6 separate regions of the Homo sapiens genome follow, and regions 2, 3, 4, 5 and 6 are each linked to region 1. The links are contacts of gene promoters, found by promoter capture Hi-C in blood cells and fetal thymus (Javierre and others, 2016). All regions are on one chromosome and are shown on one strand. Each heading gives the region's core, a stretch centred on a gene start or on the middle of the fragment in contact. The rest is flanking DNA. Distances are from core to core; before and after follow the strand shown. Region 1 holds the start of IFT74 (intraflagellar transport 74). Region 2 has its middle 8.9 kb from the start of MTAP. Region 3 overlaps NDUFB6 (NADH:ubiquinone oxidoreductase subunit B6). Region 4 has its middle 4.6 kb from the start of ACO1. Region 5 has its middle 16 kb from the start of NDUFB6. Region 6 overlaps KLHL9 (kelch like family member 9).

Region 1 (3,206 bases), core at 379-2,878:
GGCTCACGCCTGTAATCCCAGAACTTTGGGAGGCCGAGGCGGGTGGATCACGAGATCAGGAGATGGAGACCATCCTGGCTAACATAGTGAAACCCTATCTCTACTAAAAATACAAAAAAAAAATTATCCGGGCGTGGTGGCGGGCGTAGTCCCAGGAGGCGGAGCTTGCAGTGAGCCGAGATCGCGCCACTGCACTCCAGCCTGGGCGACTGAGCAAGACTCCGTCTCAAAAAAAAAAAAGGCAAACAAAGCGTGTGTTGGACTAAAATGATTTCTCTGTTTCTACACTCTATGTCCAGTACTACTTTTCTGACTTTTCTTAGCATTACTCGTAATCAGTCCTTGGACTGCTTCTATCCTTTCTACAGTCATGCATCTTTATAACTCCAACTATGTGTACGGCTCACTAATCAATGTCTACAGTTCTGCCCTTTCAACTGGGCACCAATTTTGAGTTTTCAATTGTTTATCTGAAATTTCCATTCAGATATCTCATTTGAATATGTTCACATCAATCTTCCTGACCCCACTAGCTCCCTGATTCTAATTCCTTGCCATTTTGAACTCTATGTACAAAGCAAAAGAATTTCAAATGGAAAAAGGAATTTCATGAAATGACTCTTTGAAAAGGAAGACGGTGTATGATCAAAATGGTTTTTCCAGAAGAAAACGAGTACAATAAACATCTCTTTCCAGTGGAAAAGATATTACTCTAGGTTTCCTGCTAACTTTGAGAAAATGTACAACATAAAAAATTTCACCCAATTTTCTTTGCCACCGTTTTACTGTGGTGAAAAAAAGCTTACCATTATATTATTACCAGTGGGATTAAGAGGCGGGCATTAGCAACAAATATACCACTAACTTCGGGGTTATTCAATCAAAGAGTCACACAATTTCCAATTATTCACACAGAGAGGCAGCCTGGCCTTTGGATCCAGAATGATTAGCGATACAAACTAGTGCTGACAAAGTTAGCGGCTGCATAATCTTGCCACCTTAATTAACCCCTCAGGATTTCATCTTCTGTAAAACAGAAGGGTGACATCTACCTTGCAGGGCTGTTGTGAAGACGATAAGTATTACATTTAAAACATCTGCTTCTAATTATTATTACTATCGTTATCCTCCCTAAGCCAACCATTCTCACACAGGTGAATAAGTGGAAAGTTGCTAACTGCCCGCACTGTGATCAACAGACAGAAATAAGTCCCTTCCACTGTAAGAGGCAGAAATGTATTGCTTTGACTAAAATCCTTCAGCCCATCGCGGTCCTTCCCTCTGCTCTGTGCTTGGCGGGTCTCCTGCGGGGGGTCGGGGAGGGGTCGGGCTGTTGGAGGAGGTCTGTTCGCAACCTTCGCTCGACTAGAATTGGTACATGCCTGGCCTGGCTACAGGCCCGACGGTAACAGTTAGCTAAGACCGAGTTTGAATTTGTTTTGTTTGGAGCGGATCAGCATCTCCAAGGCAAGAGAACAGACGTGGGAGGGAGGGAGGAAGAGATGGGACCCGGGGATTCTCACCTCCGCCGGCGCGGAAGGAGGGCAGTTGCCCGGCTCGCGGGTGCCTTAACTTCTTTCTGAGGCCCACGCTCAGTTTTCCTCGGCTCTCAGGCCTACCCACTAACTGCCGTGCGCCGCGGCGTATCCCGGCAACGGGGGCGGGATAGCGGAGGCTCCTCATCCTGAGTGACCAATCCTCCGCCTCAGCCCTTGGTTACACACGGAGCTCTCGCGAGAATTGAGGATATGTTTGTTTCTTCACCACGCTTCAGTGCTTTTTGGAAAAAGTGGAAAACAGCGGGGCGGCTGGAAGACAAACATTTTATGTGAACGTTTGGTTTTCTTGATAATCAGAGCAACCTCCGTGTGCCTTACTTGAAGTAACTCTAGCGAGTTTTGCTATGTCCCTAGGTAACCTCACGTCGGCTAACGTTGTTAACAGGTTACATTTGAAGTTAAGTGGTAGGCAGCATTGTGCAATTTTCTAAACTCCTAATTTGTGGTAGTTTTCCTTCCTATTAGGACGGCATAGCGTACACAACGCATCATGAAGTATGGATGCGATTCTGGCACCAACTGTTCCGTTCCTGCTTTCACCAGAAGCTTTGCGTCTTTAAGCTTCCTTTCATTAGAATTTGGATCCAAGTTTGTGGGGAAGACTGTGAATTCAATGGAAAGTGTCCTTTTTTTTTTTTTTTTTAATTTAAGAACTACTTCACCTTAAATCCCACTTCTCTAATAAAATAACTTTTACTGTATGTTTCCTTCCAATCTTCATTGATAACAGCTTAAATGTGATTGCATATGTATTGGGATTTTAACATTATTTTACACATTATTTCCAACTTGCCTGCCTTCGAGGAGTTAAAAATCAATACAACACAAAATGAGATAATGTTATGTGGCTGAATTCTCCCTTAGTTTGTGAAACATTTTCATGTAATTATCTCATTTGAGCTCACCCTATTTGCAGTGGCCATTTGTCATCCTTTTGGCAGAGTTTCTCCCTTACCCTGCCCCCCAACACCCTTACAGGAACTGAAAGTGACAGATACTGGCTTTCCTAGTCTTCCTTATTACTGGGACATGAGTATTATTGCTTGCTAGACTCTCCAATCTAATTTGGTGGACTCAACTCAAACTTGAATGACAACCAGAAGCAGGACTTCAGAGAGTCTGTTGAAGTAAGGGTGACAGCCGCAGTAACTACATCGTTTCCGAGACTGCAATGTTCTATCACCAGCAACCAGTGTCCAGCATCAGTGTGTTGTTGCAAGCTGCAGTGTTAGGTACTCAGAGGCTTTATTGGGAGGAGAACCTCTAGCTTGTTTCTTCAGCTTCTGGGAGAGTCTGTGAGCTGCTTAATGTCCTTTAATAAATTCATTTTCAGCTTTTATATCATTTATAGATGATTTCTGTTCCTTGCACTTAAGGACCCTGACAGATATTAACAGTTGAAATTGGCAGGACAGATACTATTATCCAAGTTTTAAAGAGATTAAATAATTTGCTTAAGCTCATTTAGGTAGTAAGTATTGATCCCTGTCCCCATTTCTTTTTCATGATGAAAAAGGAATAGAGAATAGGAATACATCTCACTTATTTGCCTCTGAGCTTCCTTAGAGTAGGCACCATATCTTATTTGACTTTGGATCATTATGTATTAGGTTCTGTTGCTTTTAAGGTTATATCAAATTGGAATTA
Region 2 (3,343 bases), core at 843-3,342, 5.2 Mb after region 1:
ATAGTCCTGGTTTATACCTACTGTAGATCAATTAACAAGTTTTAATTATTTTTAGTGTTCCCCTTTTCCCTCTCAAATGTGTCCCAGTTTAGAAGATATATTTTATGGTCACTCTAGGTAAGTGCCTTTCCACCATGGGATGGTTTTGAATTAAATATAGAAATGTCGAAATAAAGCAAACATAGCATTTGTGCTAAATTTAAAGAAAAACTCTGTTTCTTATTTAAAACTTTATACAGTATATAAAATACATAGAATTTCAGAGGTTATCCTCATAATTCCAATTGAATATGCAATTGATTTTAAGTTTGATTTTAAGCTAAAAGGCAAAAATAATTTGACTAAGTTTCCGTATATTATCAGATTATATAAGGTACTTTGATTTGTTATATTTCCTGAGTATAAATAATTTTATTTCAAGCATTATCTGAGTTCTCGGAAACATTTTGTTTATAGGTATTGTAAATTTGTCCTGTCAGACATTTGAAATGCTTAAAAATTAAAGTCAAATTTTTGAAAAACTGTTTAAAATATTTAATCGAATATAATTAAAGTATTGAGGAAAATTATTCTGTTCAATTTAGAAATGTTAATCCAAAAATAGCTAATACAGTAATCAATAAAAAAGTAAAGGTGATATTTCTCATTATACTCAACTTGTAAACAGTATAAAAAGATTTGTAAGTTGAACAGAAATGCTTAAGGAAGACTTGTTTTTAAATTTTCTGACTTTTAATACAATTTAAAACCCAAATAGCTTTTAAATACTTCTTCACACACAGAGCTCTCACCCTTATTTTACTCCGGAATTTTTTTTTTCAAATACCCAATACAAAATTCACATGGACTATTGCCTCAAGAGCGAAACTCTGGCAAATTGGAGAGAGTGTGAACAGCCTGTGGGTGAGGAAAAGAAACAACAAACCTGTACTTCATAAAGTCTGGATGAAAAGGGAGGAGATACTGGGAGATGAACAGCAGAGGATAGGTAGTCAATGGGGTATTTTTTTTTTCTTTTACTAAGGAGAGAGTTTTGAGCGTGTTTGTAAGCAAGTGAAAAGAAGTTCACAAAGAAGAAAAAATGGAAGACACTAAGAGAGGTATGGCTAATGGCCCAAGATCCCAGAGGAATGGGATCAGAAGCTCTGACAGAAATCATAGTCCTCTATTAGAATGGAGACATGGGGCTGGAAGAAAGGAGGTAAGAATGGGGCCTCTAGATAGTTTAAGAGTAGGTGCTGTGAACCTAAGAAAGACGACTCTTGATGGTATAATTTTCTTAACAAAGTAAGAGATAAGGGTTGCATAATGAGTTTGAGAAAAGATGACAAAGATTTGACCATGTCAGATTAGGGACCATGAATTAGAAATGGTACCAATCTGCAAGGGCGTGTAATTTTTTCTGACAGCCCTTCACCCTTGTCTGATCAGATAGGACCTCAAGGAATTGAGGATGTTGGGGAAGTATAAGTTTATCTTATCAATCAAAGAAATCCAGCCCTGTGGGGAACAATGAAGCCATGAAGGACCTGGATGATGGGGGAAGGTGGAGGATCAAGGGGGTGGAGGATCAAGGGACTGGAGGACTTAAAGGAGTCTAAGAGCCATGAGGGTAGGGTGAGGGAATGTGAAAGAGGGAAGGAGAGGAGGTCCTGGAGGGAGATATCGGAGCTCAAGGTTTTAGAAGAGTAATAAGTTCTAAAGGTTATGGAAAGATCCAAGAAGTGAGCAAGTGAATTAGTCAGATGGGGGAAAGGGGGAAGGTGGTTTGTTTTTTTTTAAATCTCCATGTGTGTATTGTCTACATTCATATTACATCTCCTAGAACTGTGGCAGATAGGACTTGGGGTAAGACGAAGACCATGATACAAGGTCCAGCTGTTGGAGGGGCTGGTAAATCAAAGCCACAGGGATGATCAGAGGATGGTAGAGCCAGATGGAAGAGACCACCTTCTAATAGCATTAGTTTTTCTAGAGGCCATGGAAGCAAACCAACCTGGAGTTGGCAATGAGAAACCAGGAGATTGCTACCCTTCATCACAGTCCCCTAGTATGTAGGGAATGGAAAAATAACAACCTCCTTAAGAGAAAGCTGTAGAGTGAAAGGATAGGCAGATTTCAGTAAAGGAAAATAGATGGAAACGGTGACTTAAAATGAGGGTGAAGTATAAAGAGGCTTACTAATTACTAAACTAGCACTTCATAAGAATGCAGTGGGAAATGTATTTGTAAAGTACTGAGGGAAAGTGGAAGAGGAGTATTTTTTGCTTGCTATATCTTTCTTAATTTTATTGTTAATTGACAATAATTGTATATATTCAGGAGACATATGTATATATATATATATCCTGAATTGTATATATTCAGGAGATGTTATATATGAACATATATGCACATTATAGAATAATTAAATCAAACTGACATATTTTCTATCTCAGATACTTAGCATTTCTTTATGTAAGAACGTTTAAAATATACTCTTTTAGCAATTTTGAAATATATAAAACATTATTCTTAATTATAGTCACCATGCTGTGCAATAGATCACAGACTTATTCCTTCTGTCTAACTGAAACTTTGTGCCCTTTGATCAACATCTTCCCTTTCCCCATTCAAATAATCACTACCTCCAAATCTCCAGCTTCTGGTAGGCACCGTTCTACTCTCTACATCTATGAGTTTGACTTTTTTAGATTCCATATATAAGTAAGATCATGCAGTACAGTATTTGTGTTTCTCTGCCTGGCCTATTCTACTTAGCATAATTTTCTCCCGGTTCATCCTCATTGTCACAAAGGGCAGAATTTCCTTCTTTTCCTAAAGGTTGAATAATATTCAATTGTGTATCATCTTTATCCATTCATTCATAATGGACACTTAGGTTGATTTCACGTCTTGGCTATTGTGAACAATGCTTCAATAAACATGAAAGTGCACATATCTCCTTGACATACTCATTTCATTTTCTTTGGATGTATGTCCAGAAGTGGAATTGCTGGATCATATGGTAATTGTATTTTTGTTTGTTTAAGGAAACTTTGTACTGTTTTCTGAAGTGATTATACTAATTTACCTTCCTACCACTGTGCACAAGGGTTCCCTTTTCTCCGCATCCCCCTCCAACACTTGTTCTCTTTCATCTTTTTGATAATAGCCGTTCTAATAGAAATGACTTGATATCTCATTGTGATTTTAATTTGCATTTCCCTGATGATTGATGATGTTGAATAGTTTTTCATGTATCTGTTGGCCATTTATCTTCTTTTGAGAAATGTCTACTTTGGTCCTTTGCCCATTTTTTAAATCAGGTTGTTTTCTTGCTACTGAATTGTTTTAGTTCCTT
Region 3 (3,241 bases), core at 586-3,085, 5.6 Mb before region 1:
CCAGGAGCAGATTCCATCTCAAGAAACCACTTTGTTTGCTCATCCAAAAGGAGCACCTTCTCATCTATCAAGCTTTATCATGTGATGGAGGCACTTCAGTCACATGGTCAGGCTCCACTTCTAATTCTAGTTCTTTTGCTATATCCACTACATCGAGTTCCTTCCTGCACCGAATTCCTGAACCCCTCAAAGTCATCCACGAGAGTTGAAATCAACTTCTTCCAAACTCTTGTTCATGTTGATACTTTGACCTCCTCCTGTTAATCACAAATCTTCTTAATGGCATATAGGATAGTAAATTCTTTCCCAGAAGATTTTCCATTTTCTTTGCCTAGATCCATCAGAGGAATCACTATCTTTTTTTTTTCTTTTTGAGACAAGGTCTTGCTGTGTCACTCAGGCTGGAGTGCGGTGGTGCCATCTCGACTCACTGCAACCTCCGCCTCCCAGGTTCAAGCAATTCTCCTGCCTCAGCCTACCAAGTAGCTTTTGATATGAAGTGAGAAACATGCAGCTCTTTCTTTTATTTGAACAGTTAGAGGTCATTGTAGTGTTATTAAATTGGCCTAATTTCAGTATTGTTGTGTCTCAGGGAATAGGACAGTCCAAGGAGAGGGAGAGAGGTGGGGAATGGCCAGTTGGTGGAACAGTCACAACACACAACATTTACTTATTAAATTCACTATCTTATATGGGTGTGATTTGTGTTGCCCCTAAAATTTGTAGTAGTAACATCAAAAATCACTGAGTGCAGATTACCATAACAAATATTAATATAACAATAGTGACAAAGTTTGAGGCCAGGCATGGTGGCTCACACCTGTAATCCCAGCACTTTGGGAGGCTGAGGTGGGCAAATCAGCTGAGGTGAGGAGTTCAAGATCAGCCTGGCCAACATGGTGAAACCCCATCTCTACTAAAATACAAAAATTAGCCGGGCTTGGTGCACGTCTGTAGTCCCAGCTACTGGGGAGGCTGAGGCAGGAGAATCCCTTGAACCTGGGAGAAGGAGGTTGCAGTGAGCCAAGATCGCACCACTGCCTGGGTGACAGAGCGAGACTCCATCTGAAAAAGTTTGAAATATTGGGAGAATTACCAAAATATGGCACAGAGACGTGAAGTGAACACATGCTGTTAGCAAAATGGCACTGAGTTTCTGGGATCGGTTCCCGGCCCATGCCAGTTTTGCAGAGCACACCTGGTGTAGAGCCCTGTGACTGGGGCCTGGACCAGCTTGAGCAGCTGGCCAGCGGGTGCCACTGCCTGCGGGGCCCAGAGGCGTTGAGTACATCTGCAGTGCTCCAGAAGCACAAGACTGTGAAGCTGCGGGCCCTGTGCAGCCCGAGGAAGTTTGGCATGGCGGGCAGGAGCTGCCGGGAGATGCTGCGCAAGGGCTACCTCTGCTTCTAGCTCCCTCGTACGAGGATGGCATGGAGCTGACCGAAGCGTCCTCGACGATGCCGAGCTGGTGCTGCTCACCTCACGCCAGGCCTGGCAGGGCTATGTGAGTGACATCGGGTGCTTCCTCAGTGCTTTTCGCCAGCCGCACGCGTGGCTCATCCAGGCCGCCCGGCAGCTACTGTGTGATGAGCAGGCCCCCACAGAGGCAGAGACTGCTGGCCGACCTCCTGTACAACGTCAGCCAGAACGTCGCAGCCGACACCCGGGCTGAGGACCCGCTGTGGTTTGAAGGCTTGGAGTCCCGATTTTGGAATAAGTCTGGCTATCTGAGATACAGCTGTGAAAGCCGGATCCGGAGTTACCTGAGAGAGGTGAGCTCCTGCTCCTCCATGGTGGGTGCAGAGGCTCAGGAGGAATTCCTGCGGGTCCTCCGCTCCATGTGCCAGAAGCTCCAGTCTGTGCAGTACGACGGCAGCTATACAACAGAGGAGCCAAGGGTGGCAGCCGTCTCTGCACACCGGAAGGCTAGTTCTCCTGCCAGGGTCCCTTCGACATGGACGGCTGCTTGTCAAGATACTCCATCAACCCCTACAGTAACAGGGAGAGCAGGCTCCTCTTCTGGACCTGGAACCTGGATCACATAGTGGAAACAAAAACGCACCATCATTCCTACACTGGTGGAAGCAGTTAAAGAACAAGATGGAAGAGAAGTGGACTGGGAATATTTTTATGGCCTGCTTTCTACCTCAGAGAACCTAAAATTAGTGTTGTCTGCCATAAGAAAACCACCCACAAAACCAGCTATGACCTGAACAGAATCTACAAACCCCAGACAAGGTTGAAGAGGAAGTGGCCTGTGTGAAAGCGCCAGTGACATATACACACCATATTCTCGTCTTTGTTCGAGGCCTGTCGTGGGCATAATTTTAACAGGTGCCTTTTTTTTTTTTTGGTCACTCCAGTAGCTCCTGGAAAAAACCTTAAAAAATATTTCCGGCAAATCTGATTTCAGTACATTTCTGAATCATTGTTTGTTTGTTTGTTTTTTGTAGGTGGAGTTTCACTTTCGTTGCCCAGGCTGGAGTGTAGTAGTGTGATCCTGGCTCACTGCAACCTCCGCCTCCCGGGTTCAAGTGATTCTCCTGCCTCAACCTCCCAAGTAGCTAGGATTACAGGTATGTGCCACCATGCCTGGCTAATTTTTGTATTTTTAGTAGAGACAGGGTTTCGCCATGTTGGTCGGCCTGGTCTCGAACTCCTGACCTCAGGTGATCCACCTGCCTCGGCCTACCAAAGTGCTGGGATTACAGGCGTGGGCCTCCGTGCCTGGCCTGAATCATTTTTTGTACCTTCTGACAGCCCAACTTCCAGAGGACAACTTTGGGGTACTCACTGGATGTCTTGTGAGTCGTCAGTAGGGATAAGAATTGTCCTGAGCTGAGGAATTCTTCTGTTCTCTGGTTTTACCAGTATTTGGTTTGCTCATGTGGTGTGGTCACCATACTAAAACGGTGTCATGGCTGAAGTTAGCCACTCTTGTTTGAGGGACAAGTTGTTTATGCATCAGCTGTCTGCTGGCTCTCCATTTCCATGGCAAATGGGCAGCTCCATCCTTCTTGACTGTTCTAAATGCCCAAAAGAGAGGTGTCATGCTTTGGGGGTAAGATGTTTGTACTCCATAAAGAACATAAAAGGACATTCACTGCTGAATTTTTTTCTTTTTTTTTTTTGAGACAGGGTCTCACTGTGTCTCCTGGCTGGAGTGCAGTGGCGCGATCTCGGCTCACTGCGACCTCTGCCTCCTGGGTTCAAGTGATTCTCCTGCCTCAGCCTACCAAGT
Region 4 (3,672 bases), core at 1,066-3,565, 5.4 Mb before region 1:
CTGAGGGCATATACTCTAGGGACCTTCAGAGAGGATGCCACCCAAGCATGTAACTGCTCAGGCACCCCAGCTGTGCTCTGGTGGGGGGCAGAGGCAGAAGGACCTTCATTTGAAGTAACAGTATTGTTTTAGCAGCCTTACCTGCTAGAAGGCTCTGCTGCTATAAGAAGAACCATGAAGATTCTGCCAGAGACCTGTTGAGCTCTGAGGAATGCCTCATCATATTCCACACCGATTTCAGTTACTTGTATATGCTGGACTTCCTCAGTTTATTGAAAGGTCCTAGGAACTATACCCAACTAACTTTGTATCATGCTTTACAATTTATACTGCATTTTCACATACATGTCATTTAATAGGAAGGGAGAGGTGTAAGAGAAAAAGTCAAGCATAACGCTTCTCAAACCTTGGGGTACATTGAAAACATGCGTGCCTGTGTTGTGCTCTTAGGAGGCTGAGTTTGATGTGGGTGGTCAAAAGACCATGCTTTGAGAAACACCAATGGTAGTTCTCCGAATCTGGGTGTTTCTCAGATTTACCATAGGGCACTGATAAAAATATAGCCTCCTGTATCCTCTGCCTCCTAGAATGTCTGATTCATTAGGTCAGGGTGGGGGTCTGTGTTCAGATTCTGAATACGCTACATTTTTACCACAGGTGATTCTGCTGTAGCATGTCCCCAGATTGGCACCAAAGACCTGTTACCTAGAAATATACACTCCATGAGGGCAGGGGCCCATGTCAGTTTGTTCATCATCCCTAACATGGAGTCTGGTGCATAGTAGGTGCTCAATACAAGTTTGTTGACTGACTTACTGTCAGTGTCTTTCTATTGCTTACCCTTTGCTCTCTGTTGGCCTTTGCGCTGTTCAGAGTCCTCTAGAGTGGCACGGAGGGAAGACATCTGTTTGGCAATGAATGAAGTATAAAATGGTCCTCCTGAATGCTTTGAGGGGACTTTAGAATCCCTAAATTTTTCACTGAATATATGTCTTCATACTAGAGAAAATTTGAAATAAATGTTTTGTTCCTCTTAAAATCAAAGTTATATTCATAACAAGGAGAGGCAGGTCTTAGCCTCATCTTGGTTCCCGGTAAATAGCCAACTGCTCTCCCCTGATGCCCTCTTCTCACCACACCTGCTATACGCTTAATTTGCATGCTCTCTTAATTACTGCCTAAGGGCCTGATCCCTGAACTGCCTTCCCAGGGAACAAGAATCCTCTGGGCAGCTGCTTACAGTTAAGCACCATTCCTCTCAATATAGCTAATAATAAAAATCTTCACAACCGCCTGTTGATGCTGGTAACATTGTTATTGCCATAGTTTCACAGATGAGGAAACTGAGATTCAGAGTAGTTACACAGAATGCTTCAGTCATGAAACTTAAAGGGTGATCCTGGGGTTTTAGAGAAGGCTGGCCTCACTCCATAGCTTGTGCTTTTAAGCATTATGCAACAAAATCATCAGATACCCTGAAGCTGTAAATTATTTGTTCTTTGCAGAAGAGGGACTTAAATGTTCTAGAGAAAAGATTTGTTCTATCACCATATAGGCTGGAATTCCTTATTCACGTATTTCCAGGGCTTGTTCTCCCTGATGATAGCACAGAGATCCCTGCTGCAGCCATGTAATGTAGGGACACCTGGGTAAAGAGAGTCCTCATTCTGGGGGATGGAGGTGTTGGAAATCAGGGGCAGCTTGAGTATGAATTCCAGGATTGGTACATAATTCCTAGGTGTCTAGTACCATCTTTCACATGTGTTAATTTGCTGGATACTTTTTGAGTACTTTGTGTTATATATTTTTCAGAAGGGAGAGGGAAGTACTCTGCAGGATTGGTCCTTTAAATTATTTAGGTATACACAAAATAAAACATTTTTTTCAAGAAAATAATTTGGTAATGTTGACAAATGAGAGTAAAAATAAAAATTTGTCACTAATTTGACTCATTTCTAATTCCAGTTTATGATGAGATTACTTCCACATGTCAGTTTAAGTGCTTTTTAAATTTTCTTCTTGAGACAGGATTTTTCTCTGTTGCCCAGGCTGGAGTGCAGTGGCAGGATCACGGCTCAATGCAGCCTCGACCTCCTGGGCTCAAGCAATCCTCCTACCTCAGCCTCCTGAGTAGCTGGGACCAAAGGTGTGTGCCACCACACTCAGCTAATTTTAAAATTTTTTATAGAGGTGGGATCTCCTCATGTTGCCCAGGCTGGTCTCAAACTTCTGAGCTCAAGCAATCCTCCTGCCTCGACCTCCCAAAGTGCTGGGATTACAGGTGTGAACCACTGTGCCTGGCTCTAAGTGCTTTTTAAAATGGAAAATCCTCTTTCCCTCCTCCCTTGCCCCATCCTTGGTGGGAGGAAACAGCAAACATTTCGTCTGTTCCAAGTTCATCCTTCAAAGTACCATGCAGATTAACTTAACCAGATGATGGTGAGCTACTGCCCTCTGTTGATGAGTGTGTGGTAAACACATTGTCAAACAGAAAAAGCTGAGAGGATGGTTAGCATTAAGAGAAAAAACAATTGGGCGACAGAGTGAGAACTTGTCTCAAAGAGAGACGGAGAATAAGTATTAAGAAGACATAAATGGATTAAGAAAGCTACCTTTTGTTCCTTAATTTCACATTTACTGACTGTCCTAGAAGTTAGAGAGCAGAAACTTAATCAGTCCACAAACTGGCTCTGCTAAGAGCTTGGTGTGATGAGTCCAAAAATGACTATGATTAATTCTTACTCTGAGGGACCTGAGAACTTATTGTTTTATTATTTTCCCACAGCTTTACTGATATTATTTTAATGTTTGCCCACGATAGTACAGCATTCATCTTTCACATATCAAAATCTAATGTTAATTGTTATTTTTTATCTTTTTTTCCCCAGATAATTCCAGGTTCTTACAACCTTCTAACTTCATGTACCCTCCTTTTGATTTCTATGCCATTGTTATCTTGTATTTTATAGTCACACATTGTAACTCTTGAAGGCATTATTATTTCTGTTTATAGGGTCAATATTTGTTTAGATTCAAGCATACTTTTACCATTTTTGTTGACTGCTTCTTAGTAGTTCCTCTCCTCCCTTCTCCCATACTTGGTGGGAGGAAACGACAACAGACGACACAGAAAGATACATTTGTCTGTTACAAGTCCATCCTTGAAAGTACCATGCAGGCTAACTAAACCAATGATGGTGAGCTACTGCCCTCTGTTGATGAGTATGTGGCAAACACATTGCTAGCCGTAAAAAGCTGAGAGGATGGTTAGCATTAGGAGAATCAATAATTGGGTGACAGAGAGTGAGACCTTGTCTCAAGAAAAGACAGAATAAGTATTAAGAAGAAAACATTTTCTACTGGTGATAAATATTCTCAGGCTTCATTTGTTGTGAAATGTCTTTATTTTACTGTCTTTATTTTTTATTTATTTATTTTTGAGACGAGTCTCGCTCTGTTGCCCAGGCAAAAGAGTGCAATCTGGGCTAACTGCAACCTCTGCCTCTGGGTTCAAGTGATTCTCGTGCCTCAGCCTCCCGAGTAGCTGGGACCATCGGCGCCCACCACCATGCCCAACTAATTTTTGTATTTTTAGTGGAGACGGGGTTTCACCGTGTTGGCCAGGCTGTCTCGAACTCCTGACCTCAGGTGATCCACCTGCCTCGGCCTCCC
Region 5 (3,243 bases), core at 624-3,123, 5.6 Mb before region 1:
CTTCCTAAAACTTCAGTCTCTAACTCATTGAGACTGCTGTGCTCTGTTTGGGTTTTCTCTTTCTGCACTGCAACCTAAAAACTTCTTCAAGCAGAAAAATGGGGAAATTGTAGGGCTCACTTCATTTATTTCCCTCTGGTGGGGATCATAATCCCACATTGTCCAACGTCTTAAAACCATTGCTTCATATGTTTTGTCAGATTTTCTAGTTGTTTGGGGGTAAAAAGGTAAATCCAGTCCCTGGTAGTTCATCATAGCCAGAGGTAGAATTACATACATATTAGCTCAGCCAAGTTTAATCCCACAACTCTCTGGACTCCTTATTCTACCTCCCACACACAGATAAAAGCACACACAAATGTGCAACATTTTTGGTTTAGGTTTTAGTGGATAAGGAAATATATGACTGCTGTAAATCTGGAAGAACTGGGATGGAAGGTATTTTCAACAGAATATCCGAGATAACTAGATAGCCATAGTACTGGTAGGAGACTATCTTAGCCAAAAGTAGTACTCTGATTTCTCATCTACAATTGTGGATGTGTCTTAGAACTGTTTAATAATGAGCTGGGTGTGGTGGCACATGCCTGTAAACCCAGCACTTTGGGAGGCCGAGGCGGGCCACCTGAGGTTAGGAGTTTGAGACCAGCCTGGCCAACGTGGAGAAACCCCATCTCTACTAAAAATACAAAATTAGCTGGGCGTGGTGGCGCATGCCTATAATCCCAGCTACTGGGGAGGCTGAAGCAGGAGAAGCGCTTGAACCAGGGAGGCGGAGGTTGCCGTGAGCTGACATCATGCCATTGCACTCCAGCCAGGGCAACAAGAGTGAAACTCCATCTCAAAAAAAAAAAAAAAAAAAAAAAAGAACCGTTTAATAATGTTGAGTGTAGTGTGGGGCCTCCATTTACATACAGGAACAATCCTGATGGATGGTAGGAGTGGAGGCTCTGCTGTTGGCTTCCTTTGTTTCTGGGAATAAACCAATGTTGCCACTATCAAATTTGCAGGAGGCAATGATGAGAGCAGAAGTGGTGGAAGATCCCACCATTGGTCTTTAATTTTTAATTGGATAAACTTCCTTTTAGGTTTGAGAGCAAATACCTGACACAAAGGATGCCAGTATTAATGAATGCACAGTTAGGAAAAAGAGACACTAGCATTCTCTGTTCTATCTCGTCAGCAATTCTGGAGATGTCTAATAAGGACAACTACCAGGCCCTAGTTAATAAATATGGGTTTTGTAGCTTTTTATTATAATCATCCTATTTTAGTTTCAGAAAATATTTTGATTGGGTGGTTTAGACTTATTTGGAGTTGTCAAAATCCATATAACATAGCGGAATAACCTAGGACTTTGAAATGTGTGTCTCAAAATAGAGCTAGAAAAGGGAGGGGGGACAGAATCTGTGTTGGCTTTAAAATCCACTTGGAGCAAGGGAAATTTACAGCTCCAGCTTCTTCCTGAACTCTTGCAACATCACTGCTGATTCTGCACTTTGGGGGACAGGCTGTCATTTCAGTGCAGGTTGTTCATTTTAAATGATTTGTTCAGAACGAAATACTCTGTTAAGAAAACTTTGGGCTAAATTCTTTTACCAAAACATTTCCATGTCATACTAAACGATGAAATTTGCCACATCAATAGTATTTTAGAAAAATCAACTACAGTTGATAACAAAGTGCCCTAAATACTTGAAAAGGTCTGAGAGTTGCAGTTACCAGGAAGCTGTACATCTCCAGCTTTGTAGCACTTTGAAACAGGGCCATCTAGTGGAATCTCCTAATTGTGAAACTATGAGTGCATCCTTTAAGACCTTACATTTGAGTCTTTAAAATATGCGTTTTCATGCCTCTAGACCCAAATTAACTGTCCCCAATACAATCTTTTGCTCAGAAATAAGTATCTTTCCACTCAACTTTCCGCACTGATTAATTTTGTAATATCGTGTTCTGTGGATATACATTCAATTAAGTTTCTAAAACTAAGTTGTTTTCTTTTTTCCCTTCCTATGGAAAACAGCCCTTTCTAGCTTGTCTCCTCTCACTGCCACCCCCTCAACTGTGAAGTCTCATTGAAGAATTAACAAATGTATATGTGAGACGATCCAAGATTTATACAAGACGGTATATTATATAGGATCTAGATGTTTGTTACAGATGTAACTGGACTGTGTATGACCCATCAAACACATTGTTGGCATGTATGAGATGTCAAAGGATGTTTCTGTGGACTGGTTGCATATACCCTTCCTTAGCCCTCCAAGGAAGCGTATATATAAACCTCTCCCTAGCCAAATGGAATGAAGGGTTTGTTCATCAAACTCATTTTGTTCTTTTCCCAAAAACATAGCTAAATTACATTTTCCAGCATTCCCTGCAGTTAGGTGGGGCCCTGTGACTGAGTTCTGGCAAATAGAATGTGGATGGGAGACTTGCAGTTCTAGCTCCTAAAATATCCAACATCGTCCCCCATTTTTTTTGTCTCCCCTCCCCACCCACATCTGGTGGATGTCATTGCTCAGGCAGACCATGGGACCCTTTATCATCCTGCGTCCTTGAATGTCTGAGTAGAGCCTAATCCTACACCATAATCCCCATAACCTGCAATAGACTGTGATGGGGACATGAAATACACTTTTATCATTTTAGGCCAATGAAAATTTGGAGTTATCTGTTAATTACCCTGATTAAGACAGGAGAGAAGAAACTGGGAGAAAGAAAGAAGATAATAGGAGAGAAAGGCAATGATTTTCTTCAGAGACACATGTGAGCATTTGAACTCTTTTCTGCAAGTTTTAAGAGCAAGCACATGGTTTATAAATACTGAAAACATCCAGCAGAACAGCTGTAAGTAAAACCACAACACTCTGTTTGACAGAGTTTGCTCTTGTGGAGTCAGAGGCAGGCTGTGGCTGGAAATGATGAGGCTTGAAAAGAGGTGCTTCCCACAGCTTTAGCCATGGTGAGTGCAGTGTGAGGTGTTCACCACATGGGAAGTTTGGAAACAGGGCCTTGTCAGTTTAGCCACCAGACATTTACTAATGTTATCATACATCATTTCCTGCTAATTAAACTTCTTAATGAACTCTATTCCAAGATGTCCTGCAAAGATATGGATGTGCCTGTTTCCAAATAATAGCTATTTCAGGTATATTCAAGCTATGCAGAGTGGGATGTTGAATAAATTTTTCAACTGAGCCATTTGTGAAAGCAAAACTTGGCATAGGTTTAACAGACAAA
Region 6 (3,571 bases), core at 16-2,515, 5.6 Mb after region 1:
AAAGCCATGTTCACAGGTGGAATGAAAGAACAAGATTTGATGTGCATTAAGCTTCATGGGGTGAACAAGGTTGGTCTGAAGAAAATCATTGATTTTATTTATACTGCAAAACTTTCTCTTAATATGGACAATCTTCAGGACACACTTGAAGCTGCTAGCTTTTTACAAATATTACCCGTTTTGGATTTCTGTAAAGTATTTCTTATATCAGGAGTCTCTTTGGATAACTGTGTTGAGGTTGGACGAATTGCTAACACCTACAATCTTATAGAAGTGGATAAATATGTTAATAATTTCATCCTGAAGAACTTTCCTGCTTTATTGAGTACTGGGGAGTTTCTAAAACTCCCTTTTGAACGACTTGCATTTGTGCTTTCCAGTAATAGTCTTAAGCACTGTACCGAACTTGAACTCTTTAAGGCAGCCTGTCGCTGGCTAAGGTTGGAAGACCCTCGGATGGATTATGCTGCAAAGTTAATGAAGAATATTCGATTTCCACTGATGACACCACAGGATCTCATCAATTACGTGCAGACAGTAGATTTCATGAGAACAGACAATACCTGCGTGAATTTGCTTTTGGAAGCTAGCAATTACCAAATGATGCCATATATGCAGCCAGTGATGCAGTCAGATAGAACTGCCATTCGATCTGACTCCACTCACTTGGTTACATTAGGAGGAGTTTTGAGGCAGCAGCTGGTTGTCAGTAAAGAATTACGGATGTATGATGAAAGGGCACAAGAATGGAGATCTTTAGCCCCAATGGATGCTCCCCGTTACCAGCATGGTATTGCTGTCATTGGAAACTTTCTTTATGTAGTTGGTGGTCAGAGTAATTATGATACAAAAGGAAAAACTGCTGTTGATACAGTTTTCAGATTTGATCCTCGGTATAATAAATGGATGCAGGTTGCATCATTAAATGAAAAGCGCACATTCTTTCACTTGAGTGCCCTCAAAGGACATTTGTATGCAGTTGGTGGGCGCAGTGCAGCTGGTGAACTGGCCACAGTAGAATGTTACAACCCAAGAATGAATGAGTGGAGCTATGTTGCAAAAATGAGTGAACCCCACTATGGTCATGCTGGAACAGTATATGGAGGCTTAATGTATATTTCAGGAGGAATTACCCATGACACTTTCCAAAATGAGCTCATGTGTTTTGACCCAGATACAGATAAATGGATGCAAAAGGCTCCAATGACTACAGTCAGAGGTCTGCATTGCATGTGTACAGTTGGAGATAAGCTCTATGTCATTGGTGGCAATCACTTCAGAGGAACAAGTGATTATGATGATGTTCTAAGCTGTGAATACTATTCACCAACCCTTGACCAGTGGACCCCAATTGCCGCCATGTTAAGAGGCCAAAGTGATGTTGGAGTTGCCGTCTTTGAAAATAAAATCTATGTTGTTGGTGGATATTCTTGGAATAATCGTTGTATGGTAGAAATTGTCCAGAAATATGACCCAGAAAAAGATGAGTGGCATAAAGTTTTTGATCTTCCAGAGTCACTTGGTGGCATTCGAGCCTGTACACTCACAGTTTTTCCACCTGAAGAAAACCCTGGGTCACCTTCTAGAGAATCACCTCTTTCAGCACCTTCAGATCATTCTTAGGTCTAAGGTGTAACACCTTTGCAGTACGTCATGGGTGATCTAATACTTCCCCTTCAGTTGTATCTTCTTACAGTGATTGGTACAGTTATTAGATATAAAGGTAACTGATGTTATTCGTCTTGTATGGCTTTTAGTATGTTTATCAAGTGGCTAACAAATGCATTCTGAAAATGTATTTAACATAGCTGTTTTAACAAATGAAAAAAAGACGTAGAAAAATGTTTAGATGTCTTTTTGTGATGTTATATAAAATTGTAGATGACTGTGGTAAATGTGTAATTATGTCCATTATGCTTCAAAGTTGAGTTTTCATCTTTGACTCCAAAATGTCAGAGGGAGGCCGCTCTAAACTAAAAATAACGAAAGGTTGCCAAGTATTAATACTAGTTACCTCCCTCTTTTCGTAGTTTTTGTCATGTCTGTCAACTTACTCGATTGTGTGGTTGCATTCAGAATATTTGAAGTTTCTTACGTAGACAGAAATAATAAAAATATTAACTAGGAAAAAACAGTATAGCACCAAGCCAGTATTTGGTATCTCTCTCTAGAGCGAGCAAGAGAGGGAGAGAGGAGGAAAAAATACACATAATACAAACATACATGCATGCACACATACATACATATGTATACACACACATAATTTGAAAACTGATTGGCACTTCAACGATGCTGAAATTGTTTTTAAATTGAAGTTTCTTTCTTCCACAAAGCAGCCGTTTCTATTCAAATGGAAATTCAGTACCAGAGAATAAATGTCTATGTAGTCATACTGAATTTAGATAGATAAGGGCTACAGCATACTAAATCGACAACCAAATTTGTCATGTGACTAAACCGTTACTTCAGATGAAGCTTACATTACTGTTTTCTGCTTGTGTATTTTCTGTAGAGTACTTTTACACAGATTGGTAAAGTTCAGGTTTCAGAGAACTGCTTTTGTGCAGAAAATTTAGGTTCTTTTTTCCACCTTTTTGGTCAGTAAAACTTAATGAAAAAAGCAAAGAAAAAAATATTCTGAACAAAGCTATAGGGTTTTAAGTTCAGCCTCCCAACTTAGTCATCCTAACATGATTATTTTGTGATTTGGGGTGCTTGCCCTGGTGCTGTTCCAGTCCATGTGCATCCTGAGCTGTGTGATCTGCCTCGAGGCTATGATCTGAGCAAGCAGGAGATAACATTTTCTTCTGCATCAAGTGAGGAAAAATGTGCTTTTGGCCATGTCTCAAAGACAGGACCAACTTCAGATTCCCAAAGAAGCCAGCTACAGAGCCTCTGGAACACTATGGTCTTACAAGCAGTACTAAAATCAACCCTCAGCCTCTTCAATGCCAAAGGTATCCCTATTGGTTGAGAACCACATGGTAATTTTTAATGGGACTTTTATCAGCAAATGGAGTTACAGGAATTCTCTGTAATGAGTGATTCTGAAGAGGTACTTTCCTGGAATAATTGTCTACCTGAAGAAAAAAAATTTATATATACATTGTGTGTGTGTGTAATACACACACACAACCCCCTATACCTGGAAGATTGTCAGCATGTAAATCAGGAACAACTTTCTCCTTATTGACAATCCCATAATAAAACTCAGGAACCAAGGCAAAATGAATTGGCTTCTAGGGGTCTGAACCTTACTGCCCATACAAGTGTTGATTCATTTTAATGCTGTTTATGATTTCTGCATTGGCAGAAATTTTCATACTTTCTATGTTTTTTTAATTACTCAGTTTTTTATTACTAAAAATAGCACATTTGAGTACATTTGAAAAGTAGAAAAATTAGAAATTATTAACTTTATTGAATAAGCAAGAAGTGCATCCTAATCCTTTGATTATTAATGAGGTTGAATATTTGTGTGCTATCGGTAGCTGTGTTTCTTTGATCAGATGTTCCTGTCCTTTTGCCCTTCTGTTATCTGTTGGAGTTGCTTTGTTTTTCGTATCAAGTT

Evidence for each region. The method cuts DNA at HindIII sites, captures the fragments that hold promoters and counts their contacts. A CHiCAGO score of 5 or more calls a contact.
Region 2: a contact is called between a fragment that was not itself captured here and the fragment with the promoter of IFT74 in region 1, in 1 of 17 cell types (fetal thymus). The highest score is 6.4, in fetal thymus.
Region 3: a fragment that was not itself captured here is called in contact with the fragment with the promoter of IFT74 in region 1 in 12 of 17 cell types (non-activated CD4 T cells, activated CD4 T cells, total CD4 T cells and 9 more); the score reaches 30.0 in non-activated CD4 T cells.
Region 4: a contact is called between a fragment that was not itself captured here and the fragment with the promoter of IFT74 in region 1, in 7 of 17 cell types (naive CD8 T cells, non-activated CD4 T cells, total CD4 T cells and 4 more). The highest score is 14.7, in naive CD8 T cells.
Region 5: a contact is called between a fragment that was not itself captured here and the fragment with the promoter of IFT74 in region 1, in 2 of 17 cell types (activated CD4 T cells and non-activated CD4 T cells). The highest score is 7.1, in activated CD4 T cells.
Region 6: a contact is called between a fragment that was not itself captured here and the fragment with the promoter of IFT74 in region 1, in 5 of 17 cell types (non-activated CD4 T cells, naive CD4 T cells, total B cells and 2 more). The highest score is 18.5, in non-activated CD4 T cells.

Annotation. Positions count from the first base shown.
Region 1 is chr9:26,954,834-26,958,039 of GRCh38, reverse strand. It overlaps IFT74 (intraflagellar transport 74), which reads right to left and starts at 1,628. Exons shown (of 20, transcript NM_025103.4): 1 at 1,524-1,628. IFT74-AS1 (IFT74 antisense RNA 1) reads left to right here and starts at 1,733. Exons shown (of 2, transcript NR_121605.1): 1 at 1,733-1,913; 2 at 2,025-2,260. RefSeq lists a silencer at 55-349 and enhancers at 946-1,680, 1,681-2,416. The HindIII fragment of the contact is 1,304 bases long and covers 804-2,107 here.
Region 2 is chr9:21,792,095-21,795,437 of GRCh38, reverse strand. No RefSeq gene overlaps it. Among named protein-coding and RNA genes, the nearest start is that of MTAP, 8.9 kb to the left of the region's middle. The HindIII fragment of the contact is 8,774 bases long and covers 1-3,343 here.
Region 3 is chr9:32,565,182-32,568,422 of GRCh38, reverse strand. All of the region lies in intron 2 of NDUFB6 (NADH:ubiquinone oxidoreductase subunit B6), which reads left to right. It also overlaps a transcript of SMIM27 not described here and the pseudogene DFFBP1. Among named protein-coding and RNA genes, the nearest start is that of NDUFB6, 6.4 kb to the left of the region's middle. The HindIII fragment of the contact is 3,522 bases long and covers 75-3,241 here.
Region 4 is chr9:32,378,235-32,381,906 of GRCh38, reverse strand. No RefSeq gene overlaps it. Among named protein-coding and RNA genes, the nearest start is that of ACO1, 4.6 kb to the left of the region's middle. The HindIII fragment of the contact is 6,065 bases long and covers 1-3,672 here.
Region 5 is chr9:32,587,796-32,591,038 of GRCh38, reverse strand. No RefSeq gene overlaps it. Among named protein-coding and RNA genes, the nearest start is that of NDUFB6, 16 kb to the right of the region's middle. The HindIII fragment of the contact is 6,567 bases long and covers 1-3,243 here.
Region 6 is chr9:21,331,058-21,334,628 of GRCh38, reverse strand. It overlaps KLHL9 (kelch like family member 9), which reads left to right. Exons shown (of 1, transcript NM_018847.4): 1 at 1-3,571. The coding sequence ends at 1,623. All of the region lies in intron 2 of LOC107987053 (a long non-coding RNA gene), which reads right to left. Among named protein-coding and RNA genes, the nearest start is that of KLHL9, 2.6 kb to the left of the region's middle. The HindIII fragment of the contact is 2,424 bases long and covers 54-2,477 here.